Linked DNA regions of Homo sapiens: region 2 is linked to region 1. The links are contacts of gene promoters, found by promoter capture Hi-C in human tissues and cell types (Jung and others, 2019). All regions are on one chromosome and are shown on one strand. The core of a region is centred on a gene start or on the middle of the fragment in contact, and the rest is flanking DNA. Distances in the headings are between cores, read along the strand shown.

The links. The method cuts DNA at HindIII sites, captures the fragments that hold promoters and counts their contacts. A contact is called where the count stands out against the background at its distance.
Region 2: a fragment that was not itself captured here is called in contact with the fragment with the promoter of UBL4B in region 1 in 1 of the 25 tissues and cell types used here (pancreas).

What each region holds. Positions count from the first base shown.
Region 1 is chr1:110,110,798-110,114,106 of GRCh38, reverse strand. It overlaps UBL4B (ubiquitin like 4B), which reads right to left and starts at 1,664. Exons shown (of 1, transcript NM_203412.2): 1 at 160-1,664. The coding sequence starts at 1,572. The coding sequence ends at 1,048. The HindIII fragment of the contact is 14,264 bases long and covers 1-3,309 here.
Region 2 is chr1:109,488,178-109,491,306 of GRCh38, reverse strand. ATXN7L2 (ataxin 7 like 2) reads right to left here. Exons shown (of 11, transcript NM_001350175.2): 6 at 2,842-2,924; 7 at 2,207-2,460; 8 at 1,179-1,377; 9 at 915-1,036; 10 at 1-385. Among named protein-coding and RNA genes, the nearest start is that of CYB561D1, 4.4 kb to the left of the region's middle. RefSeq lists a silencer at 401-450. The HindIII fragment of the contact is 6,277 bases long and covers 1-3,129 here.

The DNA.
Region 1 (3,309 bases), core at 415-2,914:
ACAGAGTGTGGGGACTCCTCAGCCTCTGCAAGGGCCACTCTCTCACTCAAAGAACAGAGTAAAGGGCCTGGCTTTCCTCGTAGTCTGCAGGGGACTGGCCCCTCTATGCTGAACCCAGGGCCCCGTGAGGCCCCGTGCATTCAGTCACACACACTAGACTCTAGTTTCATGTCACCACTTTACTTTTCACATGTATAGCAGCTCTCTGCATCTAGGCTGCGTGCTCTGTGAGGGCAAGGATCCTCATTGACAGATACCATTTTTCCTTCCAGGGAGCCTTGGGCAGCGCTGGGCAGGTAATGTGAGCTGTGATACCTACTGACTGATCAGTCTGGGAGGGTGGGGCATGGCTCTGTTCACGCTGGCCACAGGGAGTGTATGACTTTGCTGAACTTTTTTTCTGCCTGAGGCTCAGTTTCCTGCTATTCTTGGTCTGTGTCTGTCTCCCTGAGGGCTCCAGGGCTGGCACCCGGTACGTGCCCTCCTCCCACTCTCACCTCTGCTGTGCCTGTCCCTTAAGCTGGAAGCACAAGCAGGAGAACAGCAGGGGCAGCCTCACCCAGAAGGCAAGGGGCAGCTACCTGACATTCCTCTCCTCTTGGCTGCTGGGGAGCCTAGGGGAGATGTCACGGTCTGAGGATGGAGGAAAATGAACTCACATTGTCTTTCTGTCCCGAAGGAGAAAGAGGGTCTGCCTAGAACCATGGAGACCCTGGGCCAGGGCTGCTTTCAGCCTGGGGAGCTGCTGGGTATGTGTGGGCAAAGCTGCCAGCACAGGAGGGGACTGTGGCCTTTGGGGCTGCCCTCCGGTGATCAGAACCCTTCTAGGGGAAGCATGGTGATGAGGGTTGGTTCACTCTGCATTTCAGAGGGAGGACCTCAGGCCCAAGAGGGGACAGGGATCCAAAAACCCTCCAGCTGCTTGGAAGGTTCAAAAAGGGGTGTGGACGCATCCACATCAGCAGGAAGTAGTAGGAAAAGTCACCAGGGAACACGTAAGGATGAGGCCGGGAGAATTTTAGCATGCAAATGGGTAGGATGGCCCGTTTACTGATCAGCTGCTGCCTCCTCCTTCTCCTCCATGTCACAGGAGCTCTGAGGCCGTGCCTTCGCCTCAAGCTCCCTCTCTCCAGCTGGCTCCACGTGAGGCTCCTCTGCCAGGAGGTACTGGGCCAGCTGCTCCAGGTGCTCCAGGCTTATCTTCTGCAGGCGCTCCTCGTGCTCCTGCCTTAGCAGCTGCAGCACGGCCTTGGCATCCTGTGGTTCAAAGTGTTTAGCTAGGACCAGTCCCAGCTGGTGCCACAGGGGCTGGGTCTGCGGCTGGTGGGCCTCCTTTAGCGCCATCTTCTCCAAGGGCTGCATGATGACATTGATAGAGGCATTGGGCCCAATGCAGTAGTCAGAGAGGTGCTTGTCATCCTCCAGGAGCTGGCCACGGAAAAGCAGGTGCTGCTGCTCCTCAGGCACCTTCAGCCGCCTGGACACCAGTCTCTTCAGCGTGGCTACACTCTCTTGCCCTGACACCTTCAGACTGCATCTCTGGCCCAGGAGCAGCTTGACTGTGAGGAACATCGGGCTGAGTGGAATCAGGAGGGATCCATGCTCTGGGAGCTGCCCTGAAGATTAGGGGGTCCTGCGGGAGATGTTGGCTTCTCCCTATCAACAAAGGGCTAGTAGTCCCAGGAGACCAGGGACCCAGCTTAGGCAGGCAGCCATTGGCTAGTGCACGGTGATGTCACAATGCTGCGGGGGGGCTCATTTCCAGAGTGGAACTTTTGGGACAGCAAAGGGGTATTTGGGCCCAGAGCATCCTTCCTCCACGAGAGGAGAAAAAGAGCACTAGGAAAGAAAATGTGGGACTGGGGGAAATGAGAGTGAGACTAGGGAAAGGGAGGGAGGGAAAGGACAGGGTGGTGGGAGGAGCATGTCTATTGATTTCTTCAACACATGTGTATTAGGTGCCACCTCTGTGCCAGCACCTGGACCTGGGGAGACAGTCATATTCAGATGGATGACTTCTGCCTTCATGACACTTTCACACTAGTGAGCTGGCTAGCATTTATCAAGCGTCCTCTTTCTGTCAAGCACTTTACACGCTCTTTTGGATTGGGCTTTCCAGCAGCAGACACTGAGACAGGGATTTGAGAACAAGTACTCAATTAGGAGGTGATCCCAGGAGGCACCAGGAGGGGAGTGAGGATGTGAGATGAGGACGGGAGGGAAATCAAAACGTGCATTCATGAGCAGGTTGCCATTGTGGGCAACTAGTATGTTATCCTGCTGGGGAGTTCTGGGAGGTTGCATGGAACACACCTGAGTTGCACCAGGTGTGGTTTTTTTGTTTTTTTTTTTGTTTTTTGAGACAGGGTCTCACTCTGTTGCCCAGGCTGGAGTGCAGTGGCATGATCTCGGCTCACTGCAACCTCCGTTTCCTGGGTTCAAGTAATTCTCCTGTGTCAGCCTCCCAAGTAACTGGGGCTACAGCTGCACGCCACCATGCCTGGCTAATTTTTGTATTTTTAGTAGAGATGGGTTTCTCCATGCTGCCCAGGCTGATCTCAAACTCCCAGACACAAGCAATCTGCCTGCTTTGGCCTCCCAAAGTGCTGAGGTTACAGGCGTGAGCCACCGCACCTGGCCGAACCTGCATCTTTATGCTCTGACTCCTGTCTTTGGCTAATAGAAGTGCTACCTCCTTGGCACTTCTGGTCCACAGGTGTTAAGCAGCATGCTCCTGTGACCACAGAAAAGTAGGAAGCCATCGGGCCCTCAGGAATGTGAGTGCTGAGGGGATGGGGCAGGACAGCCCACAGCATCTGCATCACAGGCCTGCCTAATTGAATCCTCTCAACCTATGAGGCAGGCACTGCCATGATCTCCATCTGCCAGAGGAGAAAGTGGAGGCTTGGCTGATCCTACAGCAAGCAGGCAGAATTGCTCTTGTCTTCACTGTTACCTCATGTTGCCTCCTAAACAAATCTCTGCTCAGTGCCTTTTGTGGCCCAGGCCCTGAGCAGGCACCCCCGGCTCAAAGGTGAATATGAAAAAGGACACTGATTGGGCCTCCTCTGTGTCTGCAACTTCTGCAGCATTTGGCAGTTTTCAGTGCAACACATTGCTGAAGGCCTTCTGGGTCAAGCCCTTTATATATGTTGTCACAATTTAGCCTGGGAGGAAAGTATTGTCTCATTTTAGAACTGAGCAACTTTGGAGAAGACCTGAATAACGTCTCGCAGCCAGTGGGCTGATTTTGTCAGGGATCCCCTCAACTCTCACCAGCTCTGTGCTCGACTGTGCCCTTCTTCTCAC
Region 2 (3,129 bases), core at 107-2,606, 620 kb after region 1:
AAGAGTGGTAGGGCCAGGGGATAACTTCCGCTTTCGAGAAGGGGCCTCCACCTCCACCCCGTCCTTGCCTTTGGATGACTTGCTGGCCTTGGAAGGCGGCAGCTTGCTGAAGGACGGGGATGGCGTGTTGGCAGGCAGTGGTGAGGTGATAGCCTGGCTCCCGCCCATGCACTCTGCCTGGCTACAGGCAGCCGCCACGCTGGGGGAGCCTGCAGGGTAGCTGGGGACAAGGTTGTCCTTGGTGGGGGGCATGGAGGCTGGGCAGGCAGGTCTCAGGGTTGGACCTGGAAGGCGGGGGCAGGTGCCTGTAGAGGATGGGCTCAGGGGAGCAGATAACGGGGAGTTGACAAGGTGAGCTGGAGGTTCAGCTGCCGGTGGGATCTTCCTGCAGCAAAAAGAAAGCCCCACTGTGACTGCCAAGAAACAAGACAGCTTCCCCCAACACAAGACACACTCCAGTCTCTCTGCCCCACCTAGAAATGGTCAGCAGAGCCCCAGAGTTGCTGCCATCTGCTGGGAGATGCTGGAACTGAGGGTTAGGAAGAAGACACAGGGGTGCCTGTGGAGAGGAATTAGCTAGTACCTACTAACTAGGAGGCAGCCCACTAGGAACTTCATTTTAAATCTTGGTTTGGGCATCCCCTATCCCTAGTTACCCAAAAGGTACTGGAAGTGATGGATGAAAGTCTAGATTCACCCCCAGACCACCCTTCCATGCCCTGCCTTAGCCAAACTCTAGGCTGCCAAGTTTTCCCACCTCCTTTTCATGCTACTCCCTATCTGGGGTCCTGCTGGCAAATAGCCAAGGCACACCTATGGGTATACAGGAAAGATCAGGGCTTCTGAAGCCCAAGTATGTCTGGAACCTAGGAATTTCCATTCTAGAACTTCCATTCTGGGTCCGAGAGACTTACTTCCACATGTGTGTGCTGAGGTGCCGTTCCAGCATGGAGCTGAGTGCTGAGCAGAACCGGTCCAGCCGGCGGCTAAACACATAGCATCCTGGGCTCACCAGCCGGCTCCCAAAGGTGCAGAACTAAAGGCAGAAGGAAGGTGCATGGTTGGCAGGGTCTGGGGTGCACAGACAGCATCTGCACACAGGATCTGGCCTCCTCCCCATGTTGTTGGCCAGGAGTGCTGGGCCACCCCCTCCATAGGCCCCTATTCCAGGTCCTTACCGCCTGTGGCCGTGGGGGCCGGGTTGCATAATGGCAGTCAGGGGGTGGGTGGAGGTCGTCAGATGTCCCCTCCTCCTCACTCTCTTCGCTGGAGGCCTGGGTCCCACCCCGGGGCATGGGGAAGGGGAACAGGCCTGGGTCCCCATCACCACCACAGGGGCCTTCATCATCCAATTCACTCTCGGAGGAGGCCCGGGACCTGGAAGGGCCAAAAGGGATGCCAGGGGAATGTGACTGTTGTGGGGTCAGAGTAGGGGCATCCTTGAACCTGCCGAGCTCAAAGAGCAGGGCACCAGGGCAGACACCCTGCAGGGCAATCAGAAGAGGACAGAGGGAAGGGAAGGACAGGAGGGAACGACACAGCTCACAGAGTAAGAGACAGAGAGACTGCTCCCAAGGGATTCTCTCCCCAGCCCCTTCACCTCCCAGCCCCTTCCTCCTCAGGGGATAATCTGCTGCAGATCCGCCTCCTCCAGAAAATCTTCACAGTTAAAACTGTACCCAGCTCTGGTCAGCCCAGTCAACTCGCTCAACCCCCTTCTTGCATCACATATTCCTGTGAGCCTGTCTGTGAGCTGAGCCTGTGTTTCGTGTCTGCCCCTTGTGTGACAGGCAGAGATGCATGTGTGTCTCCTTCAGCAAGTCAGGCTCTCCCTGGGGTCCGGCATAGCCTCTGCACGCGAAGGGGCCAGTGAGTGAATACACATAGGGCTGCCTTGCCCAGGAGTGTGACCCTTTCAGCTCCCCAGTGACAAGTTTCGGTCTGTTGGAGGCAGCTGGGAAAATGTTCATATCCTGAGTGTTGGATCTGGCACACTGCCGAGAGGCTGGGGTGCTGTGGTATGCCTGGTTGGAAACAGGGGAGTCTCCTGCTTCCACACCACTGTCAGGAGCCCCAGGAATACCCCCACACTCAGGGCTGAGGGAGTGCCTCTTCCAGGACACTCCCTGAGCCTGTTTCCAGGGGCCCCTGATGGCTTAGGGGCCAAGTACCCCCAGGTGAGGTAGGGGTTGGATTCTAGACGTACCTGGGCAGTGCACAGTATGGGTAGGTCTGCTTGGCACGAACAGAGAAGGTGCTGCTGGGAGCAGCCACCGCTGCTACAACCTGGACTGAGGAGGGGAGCTCCTGGGAGGGGCGCTCGAGAACTTGCTCCTTGCGCCCTGGGCTCTTCTCCTTGGGAGACTCCCCTTTGCGGGAGTTGGCCTTCAGCTCTGCCACCAGCACGTCAAAGTCCTTGGCCCGGCCCTGGACTTCCCGGCGCTGGTGTACTGAGTGGATCTAGAATACAGCAGAGTGGAGAGCTGGGGAGTAGGTATGAACTGAGAAGGGGTGAGGGACGGCAGGGTGCTTTGGCCCGGGCAAGTTGGGGGGCAGGGAGAGAGGTGGGCATATTTGCAGCTGTGTTCATGTGTCTTTGTTTCATTCCCCCATGGGGCCAAAACCCTCCTTTGGGATGGGGGAATCTGGAAACTCCCTCCTTCCCACTGTTCCCACCTTCTGCCCAGGAGGGGCATACCCATCTCCCCTTCCCTTGGGTGGGCCTAACTGCCCTCCCTTAAGCTGGACCTTCAGTAACATCGACATTCCTCTCTTTGCCCAGGGAAGGAGTGGGCAAGCCCTGTGCTGTCCTCCCTCACCGTGCAGTGGGAAGGGGGTTACCTTGCAGGTCAACAGGCGGGTACAGATCTTTTTGGTCTCTGGATTTATTACCCCACACTGCCTGTTGAGGTCGCACTCCTTCCCTGTGGGGAAAGCACTTCCAATGAACCTCAAGACCATTTCCAGGAGTTTACAGGAGGATTTGGCCGCTTCCTGCCAAGGGCCTGAGAACTGGTACTAAGGCAGAAGAGACTCCAGCCCTCAGCCTGGGGCTGTACCTTCCAGATAAACTTCTGGGCATCAACATCTCCTTGCTGGGTGTGAGAACCATCCCTATCCCAATTTCAG